Regions from separate parts of the Homo sapiens genome. Here all the other regions are linked to region 1. Evidence: promoter capture Hi-C in 16 types of primary human blood cells and fetal thymus (Javierre and others, 2016). All regions are on one chromosome and are shown on one strand. Each heading gives the region's core, a stretch centred on a gene start or on the middle of the fragment in contact. The rest is flanking DNA. Distances are from core to core; before and after follow the strand shown.

Evidence for each region. The method cuts DNA at HindIII sites, captures the fragments that hold promoters and counts their contacts. A CHiCAGO score of 5 or more calls a contact.
Region 2: a fragment that was not itself captured here is called in contact with the fragment with the promoter of TAF5L in region 1 in 1 of 17 cell types (fetal thymus); the score reaches 7.9 in fetal thymus.
Region 3: a contact is called between a fragment that was not itself captured here and the fragment with the promoter of TAF5L in region 1, in 3 of 17 cell types (fetal thymus, activated CD4 T cells and non-activated CD4 T cells). The highest score is 9.1, in fetal thymus.
Region 4: a fragment that was not itself captured here is called in contact with the fragment with the promoter of TAF5L in region 1 in 1 of 17 cell types (fetal thymus); the score reaches 5.3 in fetal thymus.

What each region holds. Positions count from the first base shown.
Region 1 is chr1:229,624,498-229,627,540 of GRCh38, forward strand. TAF5L (TATA-box binding protein associated factor 5 like) reads right to left here and starts at 1,625. Exons shown (of 5, transcript NM_014409.4): 1 at 1,388-1,625. URB2 (URB2 ribosome biogenesis homolog) reads left to right here and starts at 1,750. Exons shown (of 10, transcript NM_014777.4): 1 at 1,750-1,859. RefSeq lists enhancers at 534-583, 2,244-2,323 and silencers at 1,074-1,263, 1,354-2,053. The HindIII fragment of the contact is 3,723 bases long and covers 1-3,043 here.
Region 2 is chr1:230,113,044-230,116,086 of GRCh38, forward strand. All of the region lies in intron 1 of GALNT2 (polypeptide N-acetylgalactosaminyltransferase 2), which reads left to right. Among named protein-coding and RNA genes, the nearest start is that of GALNT2, 47 kb to the left of the region's middle. RefSeq lists an enhancer at 207-1,406. The HindIII fragment of the contact is 5,726 bases long and covers 1-3,043 here.
Region 3 is chr1:230,069,861-230,072,903 of GRCh38, forward strand. All of the region lies in intron 1 of GALNT2 (polypeptide N-acetylgalactosaminyltransferase 2), which reads left to right. Among named protein-coding and RNA genes, the nearest start is that of GALNT2, 4.1 kb to the left of the region's middle. RefSeq lists a silencer at 1,638-1,818. The HindIII fragment of the contact is 4,639 bases long and covers 1-3,043 here.
Region 4 is chr1:230,052,727-230,055,769 of GRCh38, forward strand. No RefSeq gene overlaps it. Among named protein-coding and RNA genes, the nearest start is that of GALNT2, 13 kb to the right of the region's middle. The HindIII fragment of the contact is 4,956 bases long and covers 1-3,043 here.

The DNA.
Region 1 (3,043 bases), core at 375-2,874:
CATTCTTTTTCTGGGTACCTTTAAAAAGGTCGTTTTTTGGGAGGCTGAGGCGGGAGGACTGCTTGAGCCCAGGCCTGGGCAACATAGAGGCACCCTGTCTCTTAAAGATAAAAAAAAATCCACGTTTAAGTTATTCCTTATCATCGCATTTTATAGATGAGGAAACTACAGTTCAGAGAGGTTATGCAGATGGCTACATGGTTTCCATCCTAGGTCTACTGTCACCAAGCTCTATCCACTACATTATGCTGTTCCAAAGTTTAAAGATGTGGCCAGATGCATTTAACCTATTAAGCACAAAACTCCCTTTCCTACTCCCCCTTCCAAGTAGAGCTGTGACCAGGAACTGGGGCACAGCCTCCGTGTCCTCCCCTACATCCCCAACTCAGGTGTTGGCACACTTGAATCGCCTGATATAAGACACGCTCCGCACTTAATGTTCCTCTCAGCACAGCTCCCAACTGCTTGTTAGCAGGAGTCACCATTCCGAGATTCCAATCTGCAAGGTCAGTTTAGGTACAGTAATTTAAGACAGACACTGCATGGGACTGGCACTTACCTTCTGATCCCAGAACCACAAAGACTGCGAGATCCGCATTACAACGACTTTCACAACTGATGGGAGAACTGCATGTAGCGTTCCTGCACTCCACTTCCGCTAAGTCTAAAATGACACCACTGTTTCTAACCATCCACTCACTTCGGACCAACGCCTTATCGAATACATTTTCAAAAGCCTGGCAGCTTCGCGAGCTGGAGGTGGTGAACCCGTCCCACACCATGGGCGCACCAACCTTACCTTGCTGTCATGAGGCAACGAGCCCCGAGAGACACCCTTGCAGGTAAGCACTCTCCTGCAGCAGCTAGTCTAACTCTGGCTCCCCCGTGTCACACGCGGAGATCGACTCCACACCCACCCACGCACGATCACCATGTGCAAAGTTGAATCCCGACTTCGCCGCAAAGACATTTCCTTTTCCCCTACATGCAAAGGAGCTGTGGAGCCGTGCTCCCTGCTTGGCTGTCGGGCACTGGGATACCTTCCCCGCGGGCGCCCGCCACCTCCTCCCCGAGCCCGGCATCCAACCCGCAGGACCCACCCCTGCGCAGGAACGCGACGCCAGTCCAGGTGTAGCCGCCGACTGCAGGCCACGCCGCCGGCCGCAGCCCGGGACTCGGGAGGCCGAGGGCGGAGGCGCGGCCGTCGCGCCCGCGCAGAGCCGCCCGCCGCCCCCCAGCCCCGCCTCCCGCGCCCCACCCCCACCGCCCGCCGGCGGGAGCCAAGGCGCGCCCCGCCGAGGCCCCACCGCCCCGGCCCCCGCCCGCCCGCGCGCGCGCGCGCCTCGCGACCCTCCCGGCCCTCCCCGCCCGTGCTCCCGGCACTCACTGAACATCCCAGGCGGCTCCGGCTCCCCCCGCCGCCGCCGCCTCCGGGATCGGGTTGCTTCCGCCTCCGTCGTCTCTGCCGCAGGGTCTCACTCCGACGGCCGGCTCAGCTGGGCCCCCGCGCCCCGCGCCCCGCCGCCCCCGCCGCCGCTCTGGGCGGCCGCTCCATGACTGACTGACACGGAGCGGGCCGCGGGCTGGGCCGCTCGGGCCTCCAACGCGCAACCGTCTCCGCCAATGGGCGAGGCGCCTCGGCGCTCGGCTGGCGACGCCTGGCGTGCGTGCAGCCCCTCCCCGCTGCGCCGCCGGCGTCCGGCGGAAGGAGCGCGGGTACCGGTCCCACGTGGTGGGGACGCGGGACCCGTACAGCGGCCTCCGCCGCACCGGGACAGCAGCCGCCGCCGCTGCCGCCGTCCTCCCCTGTCTACCCGGAGCTGTCTCGAGCTGAGCCCCCTACCGGGCCGGATCCCGAGGTGAGTCCCCCACCTGCGGTCAGCCCCTGCGGGCAGCCAGGTCCCGAGGTGAGTCCCCCCACCCGGGGCTGGTCCAGAGGAGATCCCCCTACCTAAGGCCGGGCCCAGATGGGGGGCCCCCCAACCCTGCCCAGTTCCGGTGCCGCCAGCAGACTCTGGGCTGGAGCGGCTTCGGCACGCTCCATTCGCGAAGGCGAACTCCCTCCTGGCTCCTAGCTGCTCTCCCCTGGTTCTTGTTGCTTGGTCTCTTTCTGCTGGGCAGGGAGTGCTGGCAGGGCTGTGCTGTCCGCCCTGGACTTCGCATTGCCCGGTAAGGGCGGTTGGAGGCCCGGAGAGCCGAACTCTGGCGGAGCCGGGGAGAGCATCTCGGTTGTCTTTGTAGCCAGTTCAGCAAACACCTGTTATGCACTTTGTAGCTGTCGCGATGGCGGTTCTATGGTATTGAACTTAGAAAGTCAGGCATCGTTGAATTCGTTTTGGACATTTTGACAAAATAGGAAAACTGACAGCACTTGACGTTCTTGTTCTCTGCAGTAGAGTGAAGGATAACTTAATTTCTAAAATGAAAACGTCTTAACGTTCCTTTTTACTATAACTTTTAGGAAACTCAAAGCCAAGTTTACCCAGTTTAATAGTAACTGTAGGTGTTTGGTATGTTTGCTACCCCCGAGATTTCATGGTTTTTTGTTTTCTATTTTTAGTCTTTTCCTTGTGCAAGTATCTCTTGTAGAGTCTTTTTTGAAGTGTATGTGCGTTGTAAATTTATACACGACTGAATAAAAGTGTTAGTGGAAGGTTACTGTTGCAGCTGAAATAACTGTATTCCTTTGGGGTTTTCTTTTTCACTTGGAGACATATTACTTTCTCCGGATATTGCTTATGTATCTTTTCCTCTTTCAATTTGAAACCATGTATGAATGACTCTTTCCACAAGTAATGTAATCACTGATTTTGGCCTTGTTGAATTCCTGAACACTCACCTTTGTGGAAGTGATGTTTGATCATAGCTGGAATACATATAGTCCATCTTCTGTGTGTGCAGTCCATCTTTTGCTTGCTTTTGTCTGAATTTCCCCCAGAAAATTCTGGAGTCAAGCATCTTGTATGTAGATTTACCCCGACAAATCTGTTGATTCATTAAAAACTTTTAAAAGAATACATATTAGGTAAACAAGATACAGTAC
Region 2 (3,043 bases), core at 281-2,780, 490 kb after region 1:
GTGTGTTTGCCAGCATGCTTGGGGCTTTCTTCAGGTGTTTCTGGCCTGAGGAAGTGTCTTACCCCCATGTTATTTGTGTGGCTGCACAGCATCTGGAGGGAGGGATAGAGCCCCAGCGCTGGGCACATCGGATCTGTGCTCTGAACAGCTCTGTTGATGCCAGAGCTGCCTGACTTGCTCTGTGTGGTGCTGTGAAGGTCAGGCTTGGAGAGTGAGGAGCTGCTGAAAAAGGGTGAGTTTTGTTCTCTTCTTCCAGGGCTCAGTCTTCCTTGTACCAGTTTCTTTCTCTGTTCTTCTCTCCTTGACTCAGGAATCCAGTTTGCGCAGCACTTACATGGCGGGCAAACTCCAGTTTATACCTGGAGCTGCAGGGCGGAGCTGCTGTCAGCTGGGAGCTGTTATTGAGGAACAGCTGTGGTAGAGGTGGATAAGAAGAAGACCTGACCCCACCTGCTGGGGCAAGAAGCCTGCATAGCACAGCTAAACAGCCATGTGGGACAACGGCTGAGCAATGACAGTGGAACCCAGTGTCCCATGCAAAGTGCTCAAGAAGTGGACGGGATGGATCGCTGCTGAGTGGCTCTTGAGGAGCTCAGAGTATCTTGGGGCTGATGTTGCCTGTTGGGACTTTCCCCAGCACAGACAGCGTGCGGGATTTCAGATGCTCTTCTCCTTGCCTTCAGAAGCCCAGGGAGTGTTGGCAGCTTGTTTGCACCTGATCAGATAAAAGAGGTCATGATCTCTGTGAAGGTCTTTTCGGGGAAGGGGTCACTGGCCTTGCCAAATGTGGGAAGCGAGGCCTCTTCCCAGTTCTGCCTGTGACTCAATGGCTGTGGCTCAGGGCAAGTCATTGGATTTGTTTTTTGTTTTTTTTTTCAGAATAACGTCAGCATGTGCTGAGCATCTGACTCACGGGGTGAGGCAGTGAATGAAGGACTTCATCTCCGTGAAGTGCTTGACGTGATAGAATGAAAACCCTTGCGTTCCCAGCCTTGGCTGTCAGAGTCTCATTTTAAGGAAAGCCGTTTTTGACGTGTGTTTCCTTTCAGTTCGGAGCTGGCTTCTGTTAGGACAGGGGGTTTCTGCCCACTTAGCTGTGTCTCTGGTAATCTGAGATTCTTGGAAACGGGCCACAGTGATTCCTCTGGCCACATTCAGGGTCAGGTTTTCAGTTCGTCTTCCTGGTGTTTCCGCGCCTCATTCTAGGGGGAGGTTTAGTCGTTCCTTTCTCTGCTGTCCCCCAGTAGCTTCCGGCCATTCCTTGTGAAGGAATCTTCCTAAGTCAATTTTCCCTGGTGAAGACTGAGCCCTGGAAGAAGAGAACAAATCTCATCCTTTGTCACTTGGGAATTTCACTGGCGAAATTCAGTGAGGCACTTGAGGTTTGTAAATGGGCAGACGTTTCCCACACGATTACGTCTGTATGTTGGAAAGATATTTCTAAGTTGTAGTGAGGTAGGAGGGATTCTCAGCGAGAGGAGGGGCTTGGGCTGAACCCGGCACTGCTGGGACATGAACAGGGGAAACAGCGTTGGCGGTGGAGCAGGTAGACATTCCCTTGACCTCGTAAGTCCTGGATGCCACCCGGCGAACTGGCCTGCGGGCTGGAAATGATGCAGCTGACCCAGTAAACGCACTCAGCTCACCTTTTAGTCTGGTCCAGAACGCTGAATTGAGCTCTTGGATCTTGGTGCTAAATACGTGGTGTGGCATTAATGGCAGTAAAGATGGATGGTTATGTACCATGTAGAACGTGCAAATCTGTTTTCAATAGGCTTTATTTTTTAGAGCAGTTTTGGGTTCACAGCAAAATTGAGCAGAAGGTACAGAGAGTGCCTGTATACCTGCTACCCCAACATCCAGCTTCCCCTATTAGTTTCCCTTCGCAAGAGTTATAGTCCACAAACCTACACTGACACATCCTTAAGTCTCCCAAGTCCACAGCTTACATTAGGGTTCACTCTTTTTTTTTTTTTTTTTAAGATGGAGTCTCACTCTGTCACCCAGGCTGGAGTGCAGTGGCATGATCTCGGCTCATTGCAACCTCTGCCACCCGGGTTCAAGCGATTCTCCTGCCTCAGCCTCCTAAGTAGGTGGGATTACAAGCTCCTGCCACCACACCCAGCTAATTTTTGTATTTTTAGTAGAGACAGGGTTTTACTATCTTGGCCATGCCGGTCTTGAACTCCTGACCTTGTGATCCACCTGCCTCGGCCTCCCAGAGTGCTGGGATTACAGGAGGGTTCACTCTTGCTTTTGTACATTCTATGGGTTTGGACAAATGTACAGACACACGTCTGAGAAAATTGTGGGTTTGATTTCAGGCCATCACATAAAGCAAATACGGCAGTAAAGCAAGTCACACACAGTTTTTGGTTTCCTAGTGCATACAAAGTTATGTTTACACTGTATTGCCGTCTGTGAATAGGGCAGTAGCCTTATGCCTAAACAATGTACGGATCTTAATTTTAAAATATTTTATTACTGAAAAATGCTAAGGATCATCTGAGTTTTTAGCAAGTCGAGTCATAGTCTTTTTGCCCAGATGTTGATGGCTGCTGACTGATGACGGTGGTGGTGGTTGAAGGTTGAGGTGGTGGCTGCGACAGTTTCTTAAAAGAAGACAACAATGAAATTTGCCACATTGATGGACTCTTCCTTTCACAAAAGATTTCTTTGTAGCATGCGTTGCTGTTTAGCATTTTGCCCACAGTAGGACTTCTTTCAGAATAGGAGTCAGTTCCCTCAAACCCTGCCACGTCTTTGTCAATTAAGTTTATTCTGAATCCTTTGTTGTAATTTTGACATGCTCACAGCATGTTCCCTAGGAATAGATTCCATCTCAGGAAACCACTTTCTTTGCTCTTCCATGTCTTTTTCCAGGTTCTATCATGAGTTTGCAGCAATTCAGTCACATCTGTCGTCTCCACTTCTAGTTCTCTTGGTGTTTCCACCACAACTGCAGTTCCTTCTCCACTCTAGTCTTGAACCCCTCAAAGTCATCCATGAAGGTTGGAATCAGCTTCTTCCACGCTCTGGTTAG
Region 3 (3,043 bases), core at 242-2,741, 450 kb after region 1:
TTTTATTCCATATTTAGCCAGTTTCTGCACATCCTGACGTTTTTCATAGGGTACTAGGCTGCAGTATTGGGCTTTAGGGATCGTCTGAGGGGAGTCCAACTAGGATTTCTGCTGCTTCAGCAGCCCAGCCCAGGCTTGTCATTGTGTGCCCTGCCTGTTAAGTAACTCATCACAGAACTGTTATTCTCCACTTGGCAAAACCCAGAGAGCCAGCTCACCTCAGATTGCAGGTTTAGTAAACTAAGCAGGAGGGAGTGCTGAAGACCAATCTCAGGCACTGCCGCACAACTCGGGACTCAACACCCAGGCTCAGGACATGTATGTTAAAGCAGTTTATTCAAAATATTGTTTAAAATTATGTTTCATTTACATTTGTGTCCATACCCTTTCCCCCCATATTTTGCTCTTTCCCCCTAAATTGATGATTTGCACTTCAAGCGTGCCTTTCCTTTGAGCTTCTTAAATGCTTTAAAATTTTAACCATGTTAAGTCTCCCCTGGGCTTTGGTACGTTGGCAGTGGATGGAGCCGCAGAAGAGAGGAAGGGATTTCTCTGGAAATGAAGCTGCCTGTGGGTGAAGTGTGGCTGTTTAGGGTGGAAAGGGAAGGGTTTTCTCTCTGCTGTAAGAGTGTGTGGAGCCTGAGACCCCTTGCCTGTGTGCCTGCATGCTGGGAGGTAAGGGACGGTGTTAGTTGAGGGACATGATCCGGAGCCCTGGGAGCCTGTCCACTTTGCACAGTAGCATCACCCTTATTCCCTGAGCTGGCACGAGTCCTGTGGCCCTTGCCCGAGAGTCCAAGGGTGGGGGACTTTGGGTGGGATCTTCTAGGAATCATGCGGGGAGGCGGGCAGGTTATTTCTTGGAACAGTGAAGGACCTTGCCGGGCTAGACCATGGTACACATGGAGGGGAACGTTAGGGTGTAAAGTTGGAGAAATTCAGAACTAAATTGTAACGGGCTTCAAATGCCAAGCTGAACCATTTGGGAACTAGTAATGTTTTTGAGCTAGTAGTAGACATTAAAGGGAAATGGCACAAATCCACTTATTGGCATTGAGTGAGACCTAGCTGTTTACCTCTTTGTGCTTAGTGACCTTCACTGATGCATTGAACCTCTCTGACCCTCAGTTTCCTCATCTTTGCAGTGGGAGTAATCATTCTTACCTCATGGCCTTGTTCGGAGAGTTAAATACTGTTAGTGGGTGCTGAATAACTGCTATCTCTAAAAGAGGAAAATGAAAAAATAAAAGCCTAAATATCCCCTTGAAAGTGTAGTGAACCAGGAATCTTAAGTTCACGGTATTCCTGATACAATTCTTGATTTCTGGAAAATAGTCGTCTTTCTTTTTTTTATCCGTTACCCCCACCTCTGAGATTGATCTGACTGGTTCATTTGGGGTTTGGGCTATGAATCTTAAATGCTGTTAGAGACGGACTTTTTGGGAAGTTGTCCAGACACCATGCCAGCTCTCTTGTACCCAATTGTGGTGTCAGAATGGGGATCCCAGTAGTGGGCAGCCATCGGGAATGTGGGTGGAGGGTGCAGCTTGCCTTGGCGGTTAGGCAGTTGTAGTGTCCAACAGTGGACAGACGTGTCCCTGAACGAGGGGTTCCTGTGGTGGGATCCCAGGTTCTGAGCTCCACTGCTCTCCCTCTGTAGCCCTGCCCCTCTTGTTAGAAGGGCAGGTCGCTGTGATCCCTGGAAGCATGCATGACTTGAGGTGGAGCATGGGGCCCTCACGTGGTTTAATGGGTGCCAAAAATCTGTGAGCATCTTGGTGGATGCGGAGGGGAACACCCATACCACTCCTTGCCACCTATCATCAGTTTGGAGTTTAAAGAAAGTCCACTTCAAATGAGAGTTTGAAGTTGACACAGGGAGGACAGTAGCAGGGAAAACCACTGTATAGCCAGATAATCCGACAGTGGCACTGTAACATAAACTTCTCTCTTTAAAGAAAATAAAGTTTCCCAATTCTGGAGTGAAGCTGTGGCTGCCTCTGGGTCAGCAAACATAATGGAAACAGATTGTGTGACTGCTGAACAGTGCAAAAGTAACGAGCTCTTCCCTAGACCCTTGAGCAAAAATGAAAAAGCAACTGCTTTACCCAGCACTGAGTGGGGTCAGCTTGCCCAGGCTCTGTTGGACCTTGGGGTGGGGGACACCTGGGAGGCTGGTGAAGGTTTTATGAGTCTTCAGACCCGCTGTCAGTTTCCCCACCCTAGCTCCTGTTTGGATGAATGATGGGTGAGTGGTTGGTCTCCTGTTTGGAACAGAGGAAGAGGTGGTCAGAAAAATGATGGGAGAGGGGGTGGGGGAGATTGGGTTGGGGAAGACATAATTTCTTCTTGCTACTGCTCATGTTTCTTAGGGCTTTGGGGAGAGGGAAGTCAGTTTGGGAAGATACTGATTTTAGTGTCAAAGCAGGCAAGGCCACTGTCCTGCCTAACTTCTAGCAAGTCCAGAGGCAGTGGGCTTAGTGAAAGCAGGTGTGGTGGGGCGGGGGTGGCGGGGGGTGCGGTGAGGCTGCCTGGGACAGAGACACAGGTGTAAGCAGGAGTCGACTGTGAGGCTCTGGCTGAGATCCCAGGAAGGGAAGCTAGGTATTCCTGGGAAAAGCCTGTGAAGTCTCCTGGAGTGCCCAGCAGAATTCACGTGATGAGAAAACACACAAACCTGGCCAAGTCTATGCTCCCTGTTGGTTTTTGTGCTTTTGTCCTTGTGAAGCCTCTTCTGGAAGCTCTGCATGGGTGATGCTGAGCCGTACAAGTCAGTGGATATCCAGATGGAAACACACTGGCTTAGCCATGCCACTCACATGTAACAGTGGGGCACTTCCATGCTGGTTGTTAAATATGCTCTGCCTTGAGACCCCCTGAGTGCCCTCCGGTTCCTAGCTGCCCTGGTCTTTCCTTGGGATCTCTTTCCCATGTTCAGCAATCAAAGGGTTGAATCCTGACACTTGAGGGGCCTCTTGGACCCACTTCTGTGCCTGTGCCATAGTGAACATGCTGATTGTCACCCCTGCAAATGTGCCACTTG
Region 4 (3,043 bases), core at 375-2,874, 430 kb after region 1:
GAGACTTCGCCTGACTGCTTTAGCTCCTGCATGGAAGGCCCTTCTCCCAGGTGCCTGCTTGGCTGATTCTCTCACCTCCCTCTAGTCTGGGCTCAGATAACCCCTGCTCACCATATCCAGGGTGGCCACTGAGTCCGCACTCACTGTCACTCTCCCCTTCCCTGCTCCACCTGTCCTTGTGTGCAGTGTACATGTGACCTTCTAACACACTACAGGGGACCCTTGAACAACATGGGGGTTAGGGCACTGACCCCCTTCGTGGTCAAAAATCCACGTATAACTTTTGACTCCCCCAAGACTTACCTACTAATAGCCTACTGTTGACTAGAAGACTTACTGATAACATAAACAATTACCACATACTGTGTATATGTCTTAAATACTGTGTCCATACAATACAGTAAGCCGGAGAAAAGAAATTATTAAGAAAATCATGAGGAAGAGAAAATACATTTCCTATTCATTAATTGGAAATGGATGATCATAAAGGTCTTCATTCTCATTGTCTTCATGTTGAGTAGGCTGAAGTAAAGGAGGAAAAGAGGAGTTCTTCTTGCTGTCTCAAGGGTGGCAGAAGATCCACATATGAGTAGACCTCATGTGGTTCAAGGGCCAATTTGTATTTACTCTACCTACTCATTGTGTTGAATGCTTACTGCCAGTCCCTCCCTTCCCCATCCACCACTGCACTACAGTAGGAACCCCAGGAGGGCAGGGACCTAAGTCTGGTTTTTTTTTGTTTGTTTTGTTTTGTTTTTGGAGACAGAGTTTCGCTCTTGTTGCCCAGGCTGGAGTGCAGTGGTGTGATCTCGGCTCACTGCAACCTTAGCCTCCCAGGTTCAAACGATTCTCCTGCCTCAGCCTCCTGAGTAGCTGGGATCACAGGCATGTGCCACCATGCCCGGCTAATTTTGTATTTTTAGTAGAGACGGGGTTTCTCCATATTGGTCAGGCTGGTCTCGAACTCCCAACCTCAGGTGATCCACCCACCTCGGCCTCCCAAAGTGCTGGGAATTACAGGCATCAGCCACTGTGCCCGGCCTGGTTTTTTTTGAGACAGAGTCCACCCTCTCACCCAGGCTGTAGTACCAAGGCACAATCTCAGCTCACTACAACTTCCACCTCCCAGGTTCAAGTGATTCTCGTGCCTCAGCCTCCTGAGTAGCTGGGATTACAGGGGTGTACCACAACACCCGGCTATTTTTTTTTTTTTTTTTTGTATTTTTAGTAGAGATAGGGTTTCAGCATGTTGGCCAGGCTGGCCTTGAACTCCTGACCTCAGGTGATCCACCTGCCTTGGCCTCCCAAAGTGTTGGGATTACAGGCGTGAGCCACCGCACCCAGTCTAAGTCTGTTTTGTTCCCTGATGTAACCCAAGTTTCTAGAACAGTGCCTGGCACAAAGCAAGCGCCTAATAGAGAATGGCTGATGGAATAAATAGAACTTCTCACTAAAGTCCACCCATTTCCTTAAGTCTGGGGCTATGGGGGCGTCTTTAACCATGAGTCTCCTTTCCTGCCTAAACCTTCCCACTCAAGTCCAGCTGCTGCTGCTTCCCAGCCAGCTCTTGTTTGATTCCTCCCTGCTCCCTCAGAGACCTGACTGGAGCTCAGATCTGCCCCACCCCATCCAGCTGCAGAGCATGGACTCGTCCCCTTACCCCAACAGGTCCTGAAATCACCTATTAATCTTTTAAAATGTTGCTTTTATCCTACCACTCCCTTGCTCTAAAAAACCCACCACCCCTCTGTCAGCTGTTGGATCAAGTTCAGGTATAGCAGCCTGAGAGCCAAGCTCTCAGATCCAGGGCCTATCCTCCTCCACCACAGCTGTCTGCGGTCGAGAACGCCTCCCAGAATGCTCACCCTCATGTCTGAACCATACCCATCCTCCAAAGCCCAACTCAAACCCTCCCCTCGACCCTTCCTTGGAACTCCAGCCCACACCGATGGGTCCATTCTCTGACTTCTCCCCACAACAATTGAGGGCAGCTCCTGATTTAAAAGTTGGATTAATGCAGCAGGAGATTAAGGACAATAAACCTTTTATCATTTGGAAATCCCCAAGAGATTTTGATAGCAACTAGACTTGCTCCCCGCCATATATATTACATTTAAAATTTTCTGTTAACCTCTTAAGTGTCCATATCCAGCATTTGCCACTTTATTTATTGCCTTACTATCTATTTCACATGTGCGTGCTCTGTTTGTCAAACAAGGGAATAAGTTCCTTGAGGGTAAAGGCTGGTTTATACAGTGATACGTTGATTAGAAATTCCTTGGGAACAAGGCTCATTTATTCAAAATCGACTATGCTCAAAAATAAAAACAAAACATCTTCATAAGTCATTCTAAGCAGAGCTGCCAGCTTACAGCTGCATGTCAGAAATATTTCAATGCACAGTTTCTGTTTGTCTCTACCGATTCTGAAGTTAACGAGACCCGTCTTGGGGAGAATCTGCAGTCTGAGAAGTTTGCTCTTGGCATGCAGAGCCTCCTCATTTCCAACTTGAGCTTCCGCAGCACCATTGTCAGGCCCCTGAAAAGCGCACATCTCCACCTCCCCACCTCGCCAACCTCCTGCAGAGTGGATAGACCTAGGAGACTGCCCTTTATCTTCATGGATGCATTGAAACTGACTCCCTCTGGACTGTGTGCACTGCACTCACTCTTAGAAGGTGTGAGATTTTTCTGAAGGCAGAGATGTTCTTCACCTTCTTCATCCGTGCACTCCAGTAATCTAGAATAGAGCTTGGCAAAACGTAAATACTCAATAAATATTTGTGGAATCGGTGATTGTTATCTCAATGGGCATTTATACTTTCAACCTTTTATCTCCAGTTGTTTCATAAATTGTTGAGGACTTGTCAATTACCTACATGGGAGAAATGTTCTCCCTCCCCACACCTTCTTAAGCAAAAATGCCCCTGATGTTTCAATTAGGCTGGTCAATCTGACCTGTAGCTGGCCTAGCCTCCCTCAGGAGGAGGTGATTCATGGAGACTTTCCCATTGTCTTTCCAGCTCACTGCCTGGTTCTTGAAG